Regions from separate parts of the Homo sapiens genome. Here region 1 is linked to region 2. The links are contacts of gene promoters, found by promoter capture Hi-C in blood cells and fetal thymus (Javierre and others, 2016). All regions are on one chromosome and are shown on one strand. Each heading gives the region's core, a stretch centred on a gene start or on the middle of the fragment in contact. The rest is flanking DNA. Distances are from core to core; before and after follow the strand shown.

Evidence for each region. The method cuts DNA at HindIII sites, captures the fragments that hold promoters and counts their contacts. A CHiCAGO score of 5 or more calls a contact.
Region 1: a contact is called between a fragment that was not itself captured here and the fragment with the promoter of SPSB4 in region 2, in 3 of 17 cell types (M1 macrophages, M2 macrophages and M0 macrophages). The highest score is 6.2, in M1 macrophages.

Annotation. Positions count from the first base shown.
Region 1 is chr3:141,181,120-141,187,648 of GRCh38, reverse strand. No RefSeq gene overlaps it. Among named protein-coding and RNA genes, the nearest start is that of PXYLP1, 47 kb to the left of the region's middle. The HindIII fragment of the contact is 1,754 bases long and covers 3,872-5,625 here.
Region 2 is chr3:141,049,137-141,055,045 of GRCh38, reverse strand. It overlaps SPSB4 (splA/ryanodine receptor domain and SOCS box containing 4), which reads right to left and starts at 3,699. Exons shown (of 3, transcript NM_080862.3): 1 at 3,054-3,699. The HindIII fragment of the contact is 5,905 bases long and covers 3,385-5,909 here.

The DNA of each region.
Region 1 (6,529 bases), core at 3,499-5,998, 130 kb before region 2:
CTAACTCCAGAAAACTCATAGATCTCAAGGCTGAGGTTAGCAATGGTGTTATCCATCTTGGGGTGGGGTGGGAGGGGCGGATTGTGCTAAGACTCTTAGAAAAACATTCAAGTAGGAGAAGCTGTTCAGGAGCTGGGAAGGGCTGAGGACATGGGGGAATTTGGGTTCAAGAACCACTTTTTTTTTTTTCGAGACAGAGTCTCACTCTGTCACCTAGGCTGGAGTGCAGTGGTGCGATCTCTTCTCACTGCAACCTCTGCCTCCCAGGTTCCAACTATTCTCCTTCCTCAGCCTCTTGGGTAGCTGGGATTACAGGCATGTGCCACCATACCCGGCTAATTTTTGTATTTTTAGTAGAGACGGGGTTTCACCATGTTGGCCAGGCTAGTCTCGAACTCCCGACTTCAGGTGATTTGCCTGCCTTGGCCTCCCAAAGTGCTAGGATTACAGACAAGAGCCACCATGCCCAGCCAAGAACTACCTTTTAACAGGGCAACTTTGGGAAAGTCACTTAGACTCATCTGTGAAGTGAGAAGGATAATGACAGTTTGTGCCATGCCAGGTTATGTGATTATTCAATGAGAAAACATATGCAAATCACTTGATAAAGAGTAGGCATCCAACCAACATTTATTGGACCCCTCCTCTGTGCTAGATGTTGGGGATGCAGAGATGAGAGATGACACCCTGCCTTCTGAAAGTTCAGAGCCCATGTGAGGTGGGATGGGAATAGATTATGTCAGTGGATGAACAACACAATATGGTCTGTTATAACAGGGAAGCACAGGAGGCTGTTGGGCTTGAAGAAAATGTGTACAATTCAGACTGTGTGGGTAGAAATACTTCCTAGAGAAGGTGATACCTAAGTTGAGTTCTGAAAAAGTTAGGCTGGTGGAGAAGGATATTCTGGATGAAGGGAACAGCATGTAGCCAGAGTTGGAACAGTAAAGAGAGATTTTGCACATAACACTACCCAGAAGTCAGAGAACTAGAGAGCCTGGGGAAGGCAGTTCCCTGCAATACCGAGCAGGCAGGAGAAGGGCAAGGAATGGGTTAGAGGTAAATATGCAGTTCATAGATTCTCCCAGCTTTTCCCTGACCTGCCTACTTCCTCTGACTTCTCATTGTCTCTCTTGGTTTCCAGGCTCTTTCTGCCTTCTAACTAAGGTTTCTGCTCTTTTACTAACACACAATTGCTCCCTCCTCTCCCCATTGCTGGGTTTGGGGATCCAGTATTGGAGCTGGTGCCTCAGACTCCCATGGCTCCGCTTCCCAGCTTCTTCCTCAGACCTGACTCTGGTCTTAGGAACATGACATCCTTAGAGCTGCCACTTAGCCCTATGGTGGTTTTGTATCTCTTCCTGTGGGCAGATAGCCCTGTGCCAGAGTTCACAGATAAGCAAGTGAGTGCTGACTGGCCCCCTCAGTTGGGACATTTGTGCAGTGCTCAAGCTGTACAACCACACATGGTGTCCTGATGCTCAAGATCCTGCCCCATTCTCTGCTTAGACTAGGGGCACCTTGAAGGCAAAGATGCTCATACTCATCACATCATAGTGGCCAGGAACAGGATCAGCCAGTGGGACAAATGGATGGCCTCATGCCCATGTCCTCCAGCCCAGCTGCTAAAGTCAGAGAAAAGGAATCCAGGGGTGACAGTGCTTGGCCTGTCTGGCAGTGCCAAGGCTAAACCTGTTTCAGTCTGAAGCTCTCCCTAGCTTGGCTTAGAGCACATTGACTACCCTATGTCTGCCCTCCAGTAGGACCCAATCTTGGCAAAGTGTCTGAGGCTGGAGTGGGGAGTGGGACCTTCAGGTCCTTCTACACAAGGGAAGATCAAGGAGGGGCAAGGGAGCAGGCCCTGCCATGAGGGAATTACAACCGGGGTGGAGAGATATTAGATTTATCAAAAGAACAAATAATGAATAATTTAAGCAGCAGATCATTTCAGGGCCAGACCCTGCAGTTCAGGCTTCCCAGACTCCCCCAGTGAATGTGCCTACTGAGCTCCCTCTCCGGGCCCTTGGGAGTCTGGGGTGAGCTGGCATCGCCTGCTGCAAGCTTGAGGGCTCTTTGAAATTACTCGTTTCCTCTTAAAAATTCATGAGAATTTTGCACTCTACTTCTGGGCTTGTTTTAACGTAATATTGATGTGTTAAGCTACTTTTTGTCAGTAAGACGGGAGCTGCAGAAGATGCCTGCATTCACCTGTCACTTCACATGTGGCTGGCACAGTGTTGGTGAGGAGACAGCTGCTCTGTTGCTTTTCCTGCCCTGCCTCTATTCCCTTTCTGGTACCAGTGGCTCAATTTCTCTCTGGGGGAACCACCCCTCCAACTCTCTGTCCATGGCTGGACCCTGCCCTGTCCCAGGTATACCCGTAACTCAGGTTACATTCCTCTGAGTGCAATGCTTGCTTCAGAAATGGGCCGGGCACGGGGGCTCACACTTGTAATCCCAGCACTTTGGGAGGCCAAGGCAGGTAGATCATCTGAGGTCAGGAGTTCGAGACCAGCCTGGCCAATATGGCAAAACCCCATCTCTACTAAAAACAACAACAACAACAAAAACAAAACAAACAAACAAAAAATTAGCTGGCTGTGGTGGTGCATGCCTTATAATCCCAGCTACTGGGAAGGAAGAGGCAGCAGAATCGCTTGACCCCAGGAAGTGGAGGTTGGAGTGAGCTGAGATGGCACTGCTCTCTAGCCTGGGCGACAGAGCGAGACTCCACCTCAAAAAAAAAAAAAAATTAACATGTGGCCCAAGCAGACCAATGAGTATCAGCCCTTGGGCGTCTGCTGCTACTCTTGCAACAGAGAAAGCCTGTTTCAGCTTGGGGGGGTAAACCGCTGAGATGTAGCCTAGAAATTTCAAGGTCGCTAGTAGAGGAAACTGCCTGGGAATGAACCAACCCAAAGGAAGCATAAGTGAAGGGTGGAAAGAGGTAAACCCCAATGACATCATTTTAATCCTGGGATCTAGCTGTACCTAAAGCCATGTAATTTCTTGGTTAAATTGATTTGCCTTAGGTTATTTCCACTTGTAACTAAAATTCAAGTCCTGACTAATCCAACTAGTGGACACATGCCCCAGTTTGGAGACACAGGCCTGGTGAAAACAATGTTGGGACATTGGTATGGGATCAGAACGCAGATGGGTCCTAGCGTGCCCACAAACCTGCTATGTGATTTTAGAGGTTGGATTAGATAATCACCAGGGTTTCTTCCAACTTTAAGATTCTCCCCTAAAAATCCCATAGAGCTGGGTGCAGGGCACACACCTGTAATCCCAGCTACTTGGGAGGCAAAGGTGGGAGAACTGCTTGAGCCCAGGAGTTTGAGTTCAGCCTGGGCAACACAGTGGGGCCTTGTTTCTAAAAACAAACAAACAAACAAACAAACCCCTAGCCCCTCACAAAACAACAATAAAACAAAACAAAATAAAAAAAACTTGTAGAATTTTTTAAAATTTTTTAAAAGGCAAATTGACTGTAGACTTGGGGTGAGATTCCTAGGCTGAAAATCTGAAGATTCTAGCTCTGTATCTGGGCGGGACTTGGAGATCTGTATTTTTAACACAACGTCCAGGTAATTTTGATTCATAGCCAGGTTTGGAAACCACTCAAATTCTTAAATTCTTCTTCCTGAGGCAGCCACTTAAAGTCTTCCAATAAGAATTTATTGAACACCTACTGTGCATCAATGGCTCCTTCCTCTGACAATGGCCTCCTTGTTGGGTGGGGAAACTGACCTCTGTCCTCATGCTGGACTTTCTATAAAATCCCAAAGGTAGCTCTGAGGAAAACATACATTACTGGCCGCAAACTTCCTCCAGTCATTCACTTGCCTCATAAATGGCATTTAAAGCTTTTATTTATGAATAAGCTATTCACTGTCCAGTTGGTTCGTTTATAAATAGCAAGTAGATTAATGTGTACATTTATGTTGCTTTTGCTGTTGATGTCTCATTTAAAACCTTAACAAGACTGTGCCATAGCAACTGTAACTCACACATTACTAGAATTCAAATGGCTTATTATCAAGATAAACATTTATTATATTAAGGTATGCAATATTAGTGTCATATTTTATACATGGTTACTTGTAGCATAGTTCAGCTCGGGGCCAACACCATATTGAATTATTTAAAGCTATTTCTCCCAGGGTTATTAAAAAGTTCAGTAAAATATATATTAGTGTATAAAATTTTAATGCATAGTTCACATTGCAGTGTTTGCAAGCTCTTGGCCTTTAGAAGAGGAAAGCCAGGGAAGCAGAGCTCCAAACAGACCCTCTCTTTGAGAAAGTGCTCACAGCGCAACAAAACACAACCTCTACTTTGTCTCAGCAATGACTTCACGCCCTGCAAAACTCTCTTTATAGAAGTTACAGGCAAGGAGGCCAGAATAAGGTGAAGCCACCACTCATGGCTCTGGGAGAACTTTGGATCCTCAATCTCAGTGACTTTGACTCCTGCTGACTTGAGTACAGGGAGAGAATCCACCCATTGTCTCTGCTCTCCAGGGCCCCCATATGGACTGCATTACTTGAGTGGGCAATTAATTTGGTGTTTGCCATACTGTTATTAACCCATTTTGTGAGTGTTTGTTGCAGCTTCTCTGAATTGCACCTTCCCTAGAAGGGCTGGGTGGAGCTGAAGTACATGGTTTTGAAAACTAAGCCCTAGTGAAGCCCTGTTTGGGTCCTGTCAAATGTAGGGCCTACATTGCCAAAGTCCTCTCCTTGCCAACCAGAGCCCCCTATATCAGGGCAAGAGACCCTGCTGGCCAAGGCGTGGTCACACCATGGTTGGATTAGGTGACCTTCAGCTTGAGCAAGTCACTGCATTCCCTTGAGCCCTAATTTTCCCAGCAAATACCTGAGGATGTGAATATAGGACATGTGTCTCAGAGTCAGTGCTCCACTGTTGTTCATTCCCACACCAAGAACGTTGATTTTCTTCTCCTGAGATCTGGGTCATCAGCACCTTCTCATTTTTCTTCTTTATCCCCCAGATGGCTGTGGGCCAGGCTGGCCTCATAGTAGGTGCTCAGTTAGTAATTGTTCTATGGCGGTAAAATATATGGTGTTGTTCATTTCTCTTATCCTCTTTGTGGAGGAGACTCCAGAAGGAGAAAAAGGTCATTTTTCTTTCTTCTCTTTTCTTTCTTAACAGATAAGGGCAGACTAGGTCTGGACTCCTTTGCCTCTGGAGATGTTGATAGCTTTTGGGTTTCAGAGCCCAGAACAGAAGCTACCAGGGCTCCTAGGTTGGGATTCCCTGAAGCAGACCTTAGTACAAGAGTTTGTGGGCAATCTGGGAGGTGACCACAGGAGGCACACAGTAGGCAGAGTGGAGAAGTGAGCCCAGGCATGGAGGGCAGCTAATGCAGGGTGTGTTGACCAGAAGGTTACTGCCAAGGGCACCTCGGGCTCCATCCCACTGGGAGGTTGTGTGAAACACAGCTCCATGTGTTGTTCCACCATAGGGACCAGGAGCTGATGTATTTATCCTCAAGTCATTGATTGAGGTTGCTTCCAGGTCGTTAACTTCCAGGTACTTCTGGCTTGCACAATGAGCCAAGCACACCCCTGTGGCTATGAAAGTCCTCAAGCAGAAGCTTAGTCACTGGAAAGGCGAGTTCTGGGCTTAGCAGCAGACACCTAGAGTGATTGCTGCACCTGGCACCCAGAAGACAGCCCTTCTACACTAGGGGCCCAAGCTTGGTTCTGCCTGAGGAGGAGGAGGTGGAAGCTGGTGCCTGGTGTTTGGGGTGACTCCTGGAGGTGGAGGAGAAGGTGATGGTGAGGTCCATACATGGTGAAAATGGCACCTCACCTTCGTGTCAAGGCCTCCAGGGGATTATACACAGTTGTCAGTTACTGGGCCCTAAAGGATGTGATGTTGGGAGTAGCAGCAAACAAACACTGTGCCCTATACAGGGTGTAAAATGTGACACCACCCATTTTAAACAGACAACATGGGCAATGAGAATCTTAGTGGTAGGTTGAAGACCAGAGAGGTCCTTCCCCAAGTTTTCAAGACTGTGAGAGACTCACTGGCTTCTTGGGTGACCCTAGGGAAGAAAAGGTATCCCCAGTAGTGAGTTATGTTGGGCGTTTCACTGCCCAGGGAAGTAGGGACTGAGAGCCAGATGGAATTTGAATTAGGAAAAAAGAAAGTAATGCAATGTTTCTCGCTCTTGAATGTTGTGGTGGAAGTGCAAATCCATTTCAGTGGTTGGAGTGGATACAGTTTTGAAATCAGACACGAGGGAAGCCTGGAATGTGAGGCCACAATACCAAAGGCAAGCAGTTGTATTTAAATCCTGATGTCAAGCACAGGCACACAAGAAGAGGGGTCTCCTTTGCAGTGAGAAAAAAAATAGCATCAAGAAACTAGAGCAATAGCGGAGTGTAATTTTTAAGAAAGAGAGACAAAGAAGTTGCCTCTTTCATCCTTAGAGACTTACAAAGTGTGTGAAATAATGGAGAAGGTGTAGAATAGGACTTGGATCTTATGACAA
Region 2 (5,909 bases), core at 2,450-4,949:
GCATTAAGACGTGCTTGTCAGACTGAAGAAGGACTAGCCACTCTATACCTCCTGCATGGTTTGCATTTTTTTTTTTTTTTTGAGACGGAGTCTCGCTCTGTTGCCCAGGCTGGAGTGCAGTGGTGCCATCTCGGCTCACTGCAAGCTCTGCGTCCCAGGTTCATGCCATTCTCCTGCCTCAGCCTCCCCAGCAGCTGGGACTACAGGCGCAAGCCGCCACGCCGGGCTAATTTTTTGTATTTTTAGTAGAGACGGGGTTTCACTGTGTTAGCCAGGATAGTCTCGATCTCCTGACCTTGCGATCCCCCCGCCTCGGCCTCCCAAAGTGCTGGGATTACGGGCATGAACCACCACACGTATACATTTTAAATGGAGTAAGTTCTGAACTCAATGTGTGAAGCAAAAATCACATGCAATCAACACTGCTTAGGAAAGTTCTTCTAAAGTTCCACACAAAGTTCATGATAACTGGTTTGAGGTATACCACCTCTTTCCCAAAGGGCACACCACCCACAACTGTTTTTCCTATAGCCTCAAAACAAATCCCTATTTCTTGAACTGATCAGCAGCAAATAAATTAGTTGGCTTATGTAGGAACCATGTTTTATTAAAAACGTGTTGCTGGTTTAAAAATTTTTTATAGTTGATCTTTTCTTACCACAGATGGTCATGTTCACATAAATCAAGAGTACATACTATGTACTTATATAGTACATATATAGGCAGAGACTTCTGGTGACCTCCATCTACGGCCTGCCACTCCCCTGATTTTCATGCCCAAGACCCTTCACTCCTGTATCAACAGAGAAAAAACCTTTCTAGAGCATGGATGTGTGACAACAGGTCGGGCAGCTCAGGGGAAATTAAGTAACTCCTGTATGGTGAGTTGTACTAGGTCTTTCCCCAAAAGGGCAAGGAATTCTGCACTGGCCACTGTGGCTTGGCCACTTTCTGGGATAGAAATGAAGCCCTTCCAAGGACAGTTCTACGTAAATGATGAGGAAGTTTCAGTTGTATGAAAAACTAGGAGGAAAAGTATTCTAGGCAGGGGAACAGCAAGTGAATGAGCCTTTGGAGTGTTGGAGTAAAAGGAAGAAGGCTAGGAGGGTGGGTAGTGGGGGAGAGGAAAATGGTGAGGAAGAGGTGGAGAAGGGCAGTACCAGACCTGAGGACCCCTGGGATCATCTAGATTTTACTCTGTGGCAGCCTTAAGGAGGTCCTGAGCTAGGGAGAAATGTGATCTACATTTTTAAAAGATGCTTCTGATAAATGGTTATGACTACTTGCTAATTTGATACATTAAAAAAAAATCTTGTAATTTTAACTTGCATTTTTCGTATTGAGGTAAGGTATCTTGTCATATGTTTTGGTATCATTTCTATTTTATTTCGCATGTATGAATCGTGTCTTTGCCCATTTGATCTTTTGTTTGTTGACCTCAGGAATCTCTTACATATTTAAAGAGATGAGCCTGTTGTGATAGGAGTGGTATATGTCATATGTGACAGTTTGTCATATATCTTTTGACTGTTTCTGGTGATTTCTTTTCCTTGCAGATTTTATTTTTATATCATTAAATATATCTTTAAAATAAACGAGAAATACAAACTGGAGAGATATTTGGGTAGAAGGTCCAGTAAGTTGAATTTTGTTTGTGATTTGCCAAAGGTGGCTTAAATTCTTTTCATTACCATTTTTAAAAATGGAATAAATTAGAGGGTATGTGTCTCAGAGGAATATGCCCTTGGGTAAAGGATGTTTATATCATGCTTTTACACATTTTACGTCTTCCAGACTTAAGCTCATCAAATTGCGCGGGTGGGGGGCAGGGGGCCAGAAAGGGGGTGGGAGGATAGAGGGCTCAGAGTCTGAGAGAAAGGAACTCCTATCTTCATCCCCCAACCCCCCAAGGAGGAGAGTGGGGCGCAGAAGAGGAAACCAAGCGGGGGGAGGTTAGAGAACTTGCCCAAGGTCACACCGCGAGCTGGTGGTGGAGACAGATTCGAACCCAAGCCTGACTCCAGAACTGAGAACTCTCCACCTTCTCGCGACAGCGGTACAGAAAAGTGCCCTCCTCTCCTTCCTGCCGGCAGCCGTCTGCGCTTGGCCATGGGCCGGCGGGAGCAGCCACTCCCCCGGTTCTCCCGCCAGTCAGAGGTCGGGGGCTCGGCGTCCCCTTCTGGCTTGGAGCCCCTGGCGCGTACAGAGCGACCAGGGCGGACACATTTGCCGCGCTCAAGTCTCTGACCCCCTCCCTCCTTCCCAGAGCCCTGCGCCTAGGGTTTCCTGAGCTCCCAACCCCCTCCCTTCCCGAGCATAGACAAGTTTGTATTCAAGCAAGGCCAGGACTGGTCCCTGAGTCGCTCTCGGGCCAGGCGACCAGCCTCACTGCCCCAGAGTCAGGAATAAACGGTAACAACAGCCACCGGTGCCTATTGCGTGACCCGTGCTTTACTTCCACCTCTCCGAATACCCCGGACGAACAGACCCCCAGGAATTATTGTCCCCATTACACGGACGACGGAACTGCTGCAGCTTCGGAAAGTTGGATAACAAGCTTGGGCTCGCAAAGCTAATAATAATACTAGCTAACATATGATTGAGTGTTTCCTGTGTGCCCAGCACATGTCTACCTACGAACACCATCCCATAGATCTTTCCAATACCCCTATAAAATGTGCACAATTATCATTCCCATCCTACGGATGAGGAAACAGGTTTGGCGCCCTGTCCAAGGTCACTCAGCCAGTGAGTGACGGATCCTGGATCCAAACCAAAGCGGGTGAATCGGATGGCAGTTTTTTGTGCGTTGTCCGCTACGCAGAGAAGCAAAGGGCTTAGAACCCATGATACCAAAGGCCGGGCCCCAAACGCCCCAGGGCTGCGCGCAAATCAACCATCTCGAACTGCCACAACCTGCAGAGAGGAATTCTCAGGGACTGGGACGTCAGGAGCGCCAGCTGTGTCGAGTGCTGGCCCGCACAAAGTCCGTGCAGCCGGATCTCGGCTCCCGGCCCCCGCGCGCCCCTCACCAGGAGCTGGAGAGTACTTACCATAAAAGAGAGGGCAAGCGCCTGTTCGGGAAGAATCCCCAGCGCTGGCAGGTCCTGGACTCCCTGGAGAGGGGTCTGCTGCCGCCGCCGCCCACTCAGGGGCGCCCGAGTGACCCGCAAATGCCGGCTCTCTCCGCACGGCCAGGGGCGCGTCCTCACGGCTGATGCCCGGCAGCAGCGCCCCCTCTGCGCTGCAGGATGGCCTGGAGTTAGGAGCGTTCTTGGCGAAGTTGGCGCTCAGGCGCCGGGGGTCGGGCCTGGAGTGGGGAAGCGCCTTACTGAAGCGATCCTGGGGGCGCTCCAAGGCCCGCGCTCTAGCCGCTTGGAAGCTTGGCGCCTGACCCGGAGGGCGACGAGTCCCGCGCTCAGGGCGCACGGGCCGCGCCTCGGCCGCTGGCCCCCGGCGCGCCGGGCGTCTTCCCCAGCGCCCTGAGCGCACGCAGCGGTAGCAGCAGCTGGGGCCCGGGCCCGGGATGTGGTGTGTTCATCGCCCTCCCCTGGGGCTGGGTGCTTTTGTGCGCGGGGCGCGCCGGCCGCCACGGCCAGCTCTGGATGCTGCAGCCGCCGCCGCCTCCCCCTCCTCCGCCGCCGCCGCCCGCTCCCCGCCTTCCCGGCCGGCCCGGAGGCTGCAGCTGAAAGCCGATCTGGCTGAGCTCATCCCTGAAGGCCACTAATCCAATAGCCGCGGAAGGCGCGGTCGCCGGGAACGCCCCTTCCCCCACCATCCCGCGCCCCGGCCGTCCCAGCTCGGGCCGCTGCCGGCGCCGCCACCTTCTCGAGGCCACCAGCTGGCGGGAGAGGGAAGTGGAGCCCGCGCCCGCGCCCCTGTGCCAAGGCGGCGGCGCGGTCGCCATTCACTCACCCGCCCACTCGCCCGCTCACTCCCTAGCTCTCGCATTCATTCCTGCGCGCGGGTCCTCCCGGATTCATTCAAGCGCTCCTGGAGCGCCAGGGTGGGTGCCCCTGACGGGGAGGAGACACCCAGTCACTAGGCAGCTTTGGTGCCTTTACTCAACGCACGTGGGAAATAGCAGCCAGGAGGAAAAAAGGGTGGTTTATTATCCCCCTTCCTCAGACACACACGTCCACACTTTATTTTTGAGATCAGGCTCCAACTCATCTCTTAAAGTCCAATTTCATACCGCACCTGCTCAAGGAGCGTTCCCCGCCCACCCGAGGCGCAGGAAGTCGGTCTCTTTGCTCTACCAGCGCTGATGGTGGGCCGCCTCATTGGGAGCCTGAACTGAGCGATGGGGTAAAGGGCGTGGCCAAAACAGAAGCCTCGAGGGTGCTTCTGGTATCTGCGCTTCCTTGGGGAAATTGAAAGTTCTTGGTTTGGTGGCCCTCGTCTGTGCTCCCAGAATTGACTTTAGGTCCATTACGCAGTCATTTGCTAACCCAATCCCTCTCTGTGCCAGGTACCAGGCAGAGTCTAGATGCAGACAGAGTCTAGATGCAGACAGAGTCTAGATGCAGAGTGCGCATTTCATCAAGGACATGGAAAACAAGTAAAGACAATCCAACTCTATGAAGGAAACGTTTTGAGAGAGGTTCTGGGGCGAATTTGTCAGACTGGAAAGGGCAACTGGGAATGTTTCCTAGTAAATGTGTCTACATGAATTAGCTCCTGGAGGCAGGGGTACAACATGGTCACCTGGAGAGCTACCTATCACAGCACAGAGCCTGTGCTATGAGCAGAGGGGGTATGACGGAACTGGAGGGATGGACGGTGTCTAGGGTCTTGGGTGGAGACTGTATCAAGAGCTTGACCTTCCCCATCACTTTGGGAGGCCTTTAACCAGGGTAGTGACCTTGTCGGATTTGCATTCCAGAAAGACCTCTTAGCAGCCAACTGGATGGATGGATGGAGGAAACCAGGTTGGCAGCTACTGTAATAGTCTAAGCATAAGATGATGCTTTATGAACCAAGATAACCATGATGAGGTGACAAAAGTGTGTATTGACACGTATTTATTGTACTTATTCTAACGTTTCATCACTGTCTGTTTGCATGTCTGCCCCTCCTAAAACTGTGAGCCCCCCCTGGAGGGCAAGTATAGGTACCTCACACATCTCTGGATGCCCTGCACCAGCATAGGATAGATGCTGAGGACAGTGAATGTGATTTGAACTGCCCTAAGTGGCAGTGCTGACCTACATTCACACTTGGTGTCTTTCCTTCCTACCTCCTATTGACAAGCTCCTGGAGCACCTCTACTGTGAGCTACTGTGGGGGTTATGGATGTGGTTGGGGAGCAAGAAAAGAAAATTTGTGGAAAGAAGCTCAGAAGCAAAGGAAAGTTTAAAGCAGACGTTCATGCTGATGGTTTCTCTACCCATCTGGCTGACAGGCTGGGTGTGTGTGTGGAGGATGCCCGTTGCTTCCACTCGGTGCTGGGAAGCATCACAGTAGCTTCAAGGATAAGGGAGGGAGGGAGCAGTGGCCACAATTTGAGAAAACAACTCCCCCCCTCCCTTGGGGGCTCCAGTTAGGTTCACCACACTGGCCTTTCCCAATGAGATTATGCCCCAGGCACAAAGGAGTGGGCCAAAACAGGGCCCCCTTGTGTCCCTGTAGACCCCCAAATCCTCCAGCCTCTGGATAACAAGGGAAACAACTTGCCATTTGGGGAGAAGCCAGGATAGCCTGGCTACTAAAATTCTTTAGATTGAGATCAGCAGCTTCTAAATGGCCCCCAGTGATCCCTGACTCCTGGTATATACTCCCTTGTGTAAACCCTTTCCCTTAAAGTGTGGGCTAGACTTACTGACTTGCTTCTCACTAACAGAATACAGCAGAGGTAATGGGATGTTCCTTCCAATATTAGGTTATAAGAAGACTGTGGCTTCTGTTTT